Linked DNA regions of Homo sapiens: region 2 is linked to region 1. The links are contacts of gene promoters, found by promoter capture Hi-C in blood cells and fetal thymus (Javierre and others, 2016). All regions are on one chromosome and are shown on one strand. Each heading gives the region's core, a stretch centred on a gene start or on the middle of the fragment in contact. The rest is flanking DNA. Distances are from core to core; before and after follow the strand shown. Region 1 holds the start of TNFSF10 (TNF superfamily member 10). Region 2 overlaps FNDC3B (fibronectin type III domain containing 3B).

Region 1 (3,453 bases), core at 584-3,083:
TGGTGGGAGTATAAATTAGTTCAACCAGTGTGGAAGACAGTGTGGCAATTCCTCAAGGAACCAGAAATACCATTTGACTCAGCAATCCCATTACTGGGTATATACCCAAAGGATTATAAATCATTCTACTATAAAGACACATGCACACATATGTTTATTCCAGCACCATTTACAATAGCAAAGACTTGGAACCAACCCAAATGCTCATCAGTGATAGACTGGATAAAGAAAATGTGGCACATATACACCATGGAATACTATGCAGCCATTAAAAAGAATGAATTCATGTCCTTTGCAGAGACATGGATGAAGCTGGAAGCCATCATTCTCAGCAAACTAACACAGGAACAGAAAACCAAACACTGCATGTTCTCACTCATAAGTGGGAGTTGAACAGTGAGAGCACATGGACACAGGGAGGGCAACACACACACTGGGGCCTGTCGGGGGTGGGAGGCTAGGGGAGGGAGAGCATTAGAACAAATCCTAATGCCTGTGGGGCTTACAACCTAGATGATGGGTTGATGGGTGCAGCAAACCACCATGGCACATGTATACCTATGTAACAAACCTGCACGTTCTGTACACGTATCCCAGAACTTAAAGTAAAATAAAAAAATTTAAAAATAAAGAAATCTGTTTGCCAGAATTCACAAAGAGCAATAGACCTCATGTGAGTTATGAATCTGAACTTCATCCTGCTGTGTGCTATTGGATAAAGACTCTAAGAGCTACATTACAGATTTTTTCGACAGGAAGTATCACAGTAACAAGGCCCTATTTAAAGGCTGTTGCTACTGCTGTGGAACAGATTTACCCATTTGTGTTTGAAAGCAGGAAAGAAATTTTATCATTCACCACTTAATTGGTTAGAATCTCTTACTGTGCACCTTTTAAAACCTGCTGCACATTGGACTCAAAAGGAAAACTGAACCAACGGTAATTGAGGAAATAGACTCTTTTATTTATTCATGGCTACAGTGTAAGCTCCAGTCCCTTTGGATTTTATTCCAAACCTTGTTATAATATAAAAAAGGAAGTTTACAAGACATGTCATTGCTGCTTTTACAAAAGGACATTCTATTTATTTTCGCAGGAATTCTCATGTCCCCATAAGCAGAGCTGTCACAGTGTGCACTACCTTAGGTTGTTTTATTGTTGTCATTGTTATTTTTTTCCATTTTGAGCTAATGTGTTTTATCTGTGAATAGTCTTTTACATTTTTGTATGCTGAAAATGGGCACCAAAGAACCTGTAAAAATTATCTTTTTCAATTGAATGTGCACAAATAAAAGTTTGGAAAAGGAAAACAAAAGAACTACAAAGCATTTAGCAGAAAGCTTTCATGAAGAGTTGCAATGGCTGATATTATAAAATACACATACTTTTAAAAACAAAAAATCCCTCAGGAGTTTTGTTGCCCACATCTGCTAGTAACTAGTGAAGCCAGTTGTGTAACTGCACTTAGTTTACACAATTTCTTGAACTTACAGTTTTGCAAAGACCTCAGTTGTTATGTGATTTAGCAGTTAGAGTGTACCCACAGAGAAAGGAAGCAGGAAAGTCTTCAGAGAGGGGCAAGCTGACATGCAAAGAAGCAGGTAACCAGACATTTGCTAAGCGCCTCGAAGACTGAGTGCACTGCACTGCACTGACCTGCTTCAGCTCGTTGGTAAAGTACACGTAAGTTACAGCCACACAGAGAGACTGCAGGAGCACTGTGAAGATCACGATCAGCACGCAGGTCTGTCCCAGGCTGGGTCCCCCCTGGACCTCCATCATAGCCATGATCCTGTCAGAGTCTGACTGCTGTAAGTCAGCCAGGCAGCCGGTCACTGAAGCCCTTCCTTCTCTATTCTTTTATAGTCAGTGAGGAAATGAAAGCGAATGAGTTGTTTTTCTGGGTTCTGTGGCCTTGGCCCCACCCACATCTATTGAACCTGCAACTGTCCCTCCCCTTTCCTACTGCCCAGGGACAGCTCTTGTCTCAAAGTAGTCGTTGGAAAGGAGGGAAACTGAAAGAAGCTCCTCTCCTTGCCCTCAGGATCCATGCACCCCTTATCTGCACTCACCTCAAGCCCATTTCTCTCTTCTCTTTCTTGCTCTCCTTTTGATAATGTCCTCAGCCAAAGAGGGGAGGGATTTTCTTTGCTTTTCCCTAACATATCCTCATTCTACCACAGAGCTCTAAGCCTCATGGCCTGGCTGTCATAGGCACAAGGCCTGTTTTCTAAATTATAAGATAATTTTTATGACCTGAAACTTCCATATGTGGTTTTTCTCATGCTACTGTGAGGGTGGGAAGAGGGCAGGGTGGGAGTGGATAAAGGAAAATAGAAATACTGTCTCATAGCAATGGTCTTGCTACATAATTCCATCTTGAATGTCAGAATCTAAATATTGACGACTTCTTCCTCTTTGCAAACCTTCAGACACAAATTCTAATCTCCTTCTCAGATCTCCATCCCTACCAAGACAACATGCCTGTGTGTTAGGCTGGACAGGTAGGAAGTAGTTGACACACTCAGAAAGGCAAAGGAAAAAAACATGTGGATGTTTTCCAAAATATTAACCCCATCACAATGTCTCGCTGTCACTATCCTTTTACAGATTAGGAAAAGAAGTTACAGGGAGTTAATTACCCTCAGATTCAGGACCCAGCCCCAAATCTCCCCACTATCAGATGTCATAAGCTGGCCCAGCTGTATGTTGTCTCTATATCTTATTCAGCATTTCTTTCTTTCCTTTTCTTCCTTTCTTTCTTTCTTTCTTTTCTTTTCTATTCTTTCCTTCTTTCCTTCTTTCTTTCTTTCTTTCTTTCTTTCTTTCTTTCTTTCTTTCTTTCTTTCTTTCTCTCTTTCATGTATTTATTTATTTTTTTGACAGAATCTCACTTTATCGCCCAGGCTGGAGTGCAGTGGTGCAATGGCACAATCTCGGCCCACTACAACCTCCACCTCCCAGATTCAAGCAATTCTCCTGCCTCAGCCTCCCAAGTAGCTGGGATTACAGGTGCATGCCACCATGCCCAGCTAATTTTTTTGTATTTTTAGTAGAGATGGGGTTTTACCATGTAGGCCAGGCTGGTCTCGAACTCCTGACCTCAAGTGATCCTCTTGCTTCAACCTCCCAACGTGCTGGGATTACAGGCATGAACCACTGCATGGGGCCATTGTTTAGTTATTCCATTCTTGACCCACTGAGTCAGAGTTTCTGGCAGTGGACTTAGGAACCTACATTTTTCAGCAAGTACTCCAAGAGATCCTTTGAAACCTAAAGTTTGGGACCCTAGATCTACAGTTACATTCCTGAGTTCATTCAGGCACCGCTGGTCACCATCACTTCCTGCCCTTGCCTTCTATCTGTAAATGAGTCTATATTTAAGAAAATATTTTCAAATTTTAAATTTGCCTCTGTCAAATTGCCAAATTTTTAAATGCAAATTCCTTTCAG
Region 2 (3,453 bases), core at 625-3,124, 460 kb before region 1:
GTCCAGTGAATTAAAACTTTTAGGTAAATAGAGGGCATGTATTACTTATTCCTAGGGCAGTTCCTTTTGAATGATTTCACTTATTGAGAACTGTCATTTTGAAATGTTTCAAACCAATTAGGCATCTTTAGATCTAAATCTTCCAGCCTTCAGCTTTAGGGAATACATATTTGGATTTGCAAGAATGTGAAGATTTAGCCAGGTAGTCACTTCCTATTAGCTGTGAGAGGTCTTCGGACTCAATTGACTGGTGCTTGTTAAATATCTGTTTTTTTGGAGAATTTGTTTCCCTCCCGAAGAGAGAACCCTCATAGTCAGTGGGGCCCATTGACAATTCTCAAATACTATCTTTTAGGATTCTCGTGACTCAGTTTTGTAGTGAACTTTTGAATAAATATAAGTAATGAAAGATGGTAGATTTAATTTAAAAGTCTAGATTCTTTTAGATGTCAGTCAGTCCTGTTGCTAGGGTGGGGGGTGGTAGTGGTGTGTTCCCTCAGGTGAGAGTGTAGTGGTGGTGGTGGGCAGAGGGTAAGACACATTTATGAGTTGGCCCCACACCAGGCTTTTCTCTGTCTTCCCTAGGCCATGAGACTGATTACTTACCATGGTGAGAGAAAACCCTAAAGGCCCCCTCCACACTTCTCATTTGCCCTTTAGAAGACCTAGAAGATTGTAGGAACAGATAGATTGCATGAACTGGTACCTGAAGTTTAGGGAGCCATCAGTTCAATCAGTAGTAGTATTTATTTGAGTGTAGCTGTAAAGATGCGGCAAGAGAAGAAGCAGGGAGATGTCTAATTCCTCTGTTTGACTTTCCCACTAAAATCTAAATTCCTTGAAGGCAGAGACCGACACTTTCCTCTTCTCTTATATACAGAGACTGGCAAACAGACTGCTCAGCAAGTGTTTATTGAATGAATGATTTAATGATGGAGCAGGACATGTTGTTTTGACACTGAGATGCCATGTGTTTGAACCAGGTGAAAACTTATGTTTGATTTTAATTTTAAAGACATGTTCTAATTATAATTCTTACTATTGGAGGCATATGGAACTTTCAATCAAGAGGAATAACTGAGATACTTCAAATTATGTGAAGATAGAAAGGTTTTTCTTGTTCAGTCAATAATTATTGCATTGCAGATAACAGAAACCCACTTAAGCTAGTTTAAGCAATAAAGGTTTGAGGAAAATGAAGGCAGTGTTTCTATACCTCCTGAGCTCCTGGAACCAGCCCTGGGAAGTCACTGGAAGCACAGGTTGCATTTCATCTTTTCTTTGCTCTTCCTTCCCTGATATTTCTTTTTGCAGAGCCCATCCTATATGAATAATGGATGCTTATTCTAAACTCATGAAGTGATACCAATTTTTTCTTTTAAAACGGCCTGGTCTGCACATTACTTTTTTTTTTTTTTTTTGAGATGGAGTCTCGCTCTGTCACCCAGGCTAGAGTGCAGTGGCGTGATCTCGGTTCACTGCAAGCTCCGCCTCCCGGGTTCGCACCATTCTCCTGCCTCAGCCTCCCGAGTAGCTGGGATTACAGGTGCCCGCCACCAAGCCCGGCTATTTTTTTTTATGTTTAGTAGAGACAGGGTTTCACCGTGTTAGCCAGGATGGTCTCGATCTCCTGACCTCGTGATCCTCCCGCCTCGGCCTCCCAAAGTGCTGGGATTACAGGCATGAGCCACCACACCCAGCCTACTTTTTAATAGTAAATTGAAGTTATGGGTGTTAGATATATTCTTTGCAAGCCGTTTTGAAGCAGATTCTTTTCCTAATGTGTCATGTACAATCTGTGGGGGAAGAAGGTTATATAAAGCAAGAATGACTTCTATTCAACAAAATAGTGATATTCTATATTTTCCTGTCTCTTTTGTTTCTTTCTTTAAAATGAACTACAGTGAGACATGGCCAGATTGATTTCTTCCCTTAAATTGTCTCAGAAACTGTACCCAGTCCACTAATTGCTTTGTTCAGCGGACAGGAAATGGTTATATTTGCACAAGTTACACAATCTTAACTAAGTCGGGGCAAAGAACCAAAGAGATCTCTGATCTTTTTTTCCAGCATTAACCTTTCAGTTCCACAAACTAATGCATGATGCATAAACCAGGTTACTAGGGGACACTTATCAAAAACCATAAACTTATTTATCTGAATGACTTTCTGTTTAGGGATACTAAGAAAAGAAGTTACGTGAGGTAATCATGCTGGTGCTGAGGTTAAGTTTGTGCAGTTTCACTTCTTCCTTAATAGTTTTTTTATACATGCAATAAAGGACATGTCCGGAAGCTGATCAGTGCCAGCATGACCATGAAGTGCTCAGTCCCCATTCCTTCTCTCCTTACCCCTCAGCCCCCTTGCAGGCTATATACAAATTTATTCTTTTCCTTTTCTAGGGTTGGGAATTTGCCTCCTTTCTTCCTGCCCCTGTCTGTTATTGGTCCCTAGTACCCCAATTTCTGCTACTTTTCTCCTCCTTCTTTTTTTTTTTTTTGAGATGGAGTCTCTCTCCGTCACCCAGGCTGGAGTGCAGGGGCATGATCTCAGCTCATTGCAACCTCCGCCTCGCAGGTTCAAGTGATTCTCCTGCCTCAGCCTCCCGAGTAGCTGGGATGACAGATGTGTGCTACCACGCCTGGCTAATTTTTTGGATTTTTAGTAGAGATGGGGTTTCACTGTGTTAGCCAAGCTACCTGTCTTGACCTCCCAAAGTGCTGCGATTACAGGCGTGAGCCACCGCGCCTGGCCACTTTTCTCCTTCTTGAAAGTGGGATTTTCTCTTTATCATTGTTTGATTATTGTATAAGTATTATGATTGGCATTTTGCAATTTGAGCAGAGCTGATATTATATATGGTATTTCTAAGTACTTTTTTTTTTGACTCTGCCAAACTGTTAAGTCATTCTCCATCCATCTATCCATCCATCCACCCATCCATCCATCCTCTTCTCATTTTGACTTCTATTAGTTATTTCCTGAAGCCCGTATATCACTGAGAAAAAGTTAATCTTAAGTGAATAACTTAGGTCAAAATGAGAGGAGAATGAAGAATTAAGTGAATGTAGGCAGAGTCAGAAAAAAAAATAGTGTCTCTCTTTAAAGCATTACTTTTTTTGGTGATGCCTTTGAAGGAAGTGAAATTGGTGTATGATCTAATGCTACAAAACCATATCTTGCTCTCATAGATTTTAAGATTTCTCTTTTGAATGATCCATTGCTGTCCTTTCTTTACACGTATCTTTTCTCCCTATCTTCCTTGTTAAATACATTTTTTCGTTATATACTTTTGAAGCAAGTCTTGATTTTTTTGTATTTTCCCCATTTTTCTTCAAATGTTCCACAGTTCCCTAAAATAAGATAGCATTTTTGTCTTTTTCTACAGTCTATTCTTTGCTGTTTACTTCATCCCCACCCACCGCCACCAAAAATGCCTTCAGAAAGTCCCTA

The links. The method cuts DNA at HindIII sites, captures the fragments that hold promoters and counts their contacts. A CHiCAGO score of 5 or more calls a contact.
Region 2: a contact is called between a fragment that was not itself captured here and the fragment with the promoter of TNFSF10 in region 1, in 1 of 17 cell types (total B cells). The highest score is 5.2, in total B cells.

Annotation. Positions count from the first base shown.
Region 1 is chr3:172,521,597-172,525,049 of GRCh38, forward strand. TNFSF10 (TNF superfamily member 10) reads right to left here and starts at 1,834. Exons shown (of 5, transcript NM_003810.4): 1 at 1,657-1,834. The coding sequence starts at 1,788. It also overlaps the pseudogene TBPL1P1. RefSeq lists an enhancer at 1,766-1,815. The HindIII fragment of the contact is 8,260 bases long and covers 1,339-3,453 here.
Region 2 is chr3:172,059,830-172,063,282 of GRCh38, forward strand. All of the region lies in intron 1 of FNDC3B (fibronectin type III domain containing 3B), which reads left to right. Among named protein-coding and RNA genes, the nearest start is that of FNDC3B, 22 kb to the left of the region's middle. The HindIII fragment of the contact is 4,567 bases long and covers 1-3,453 here.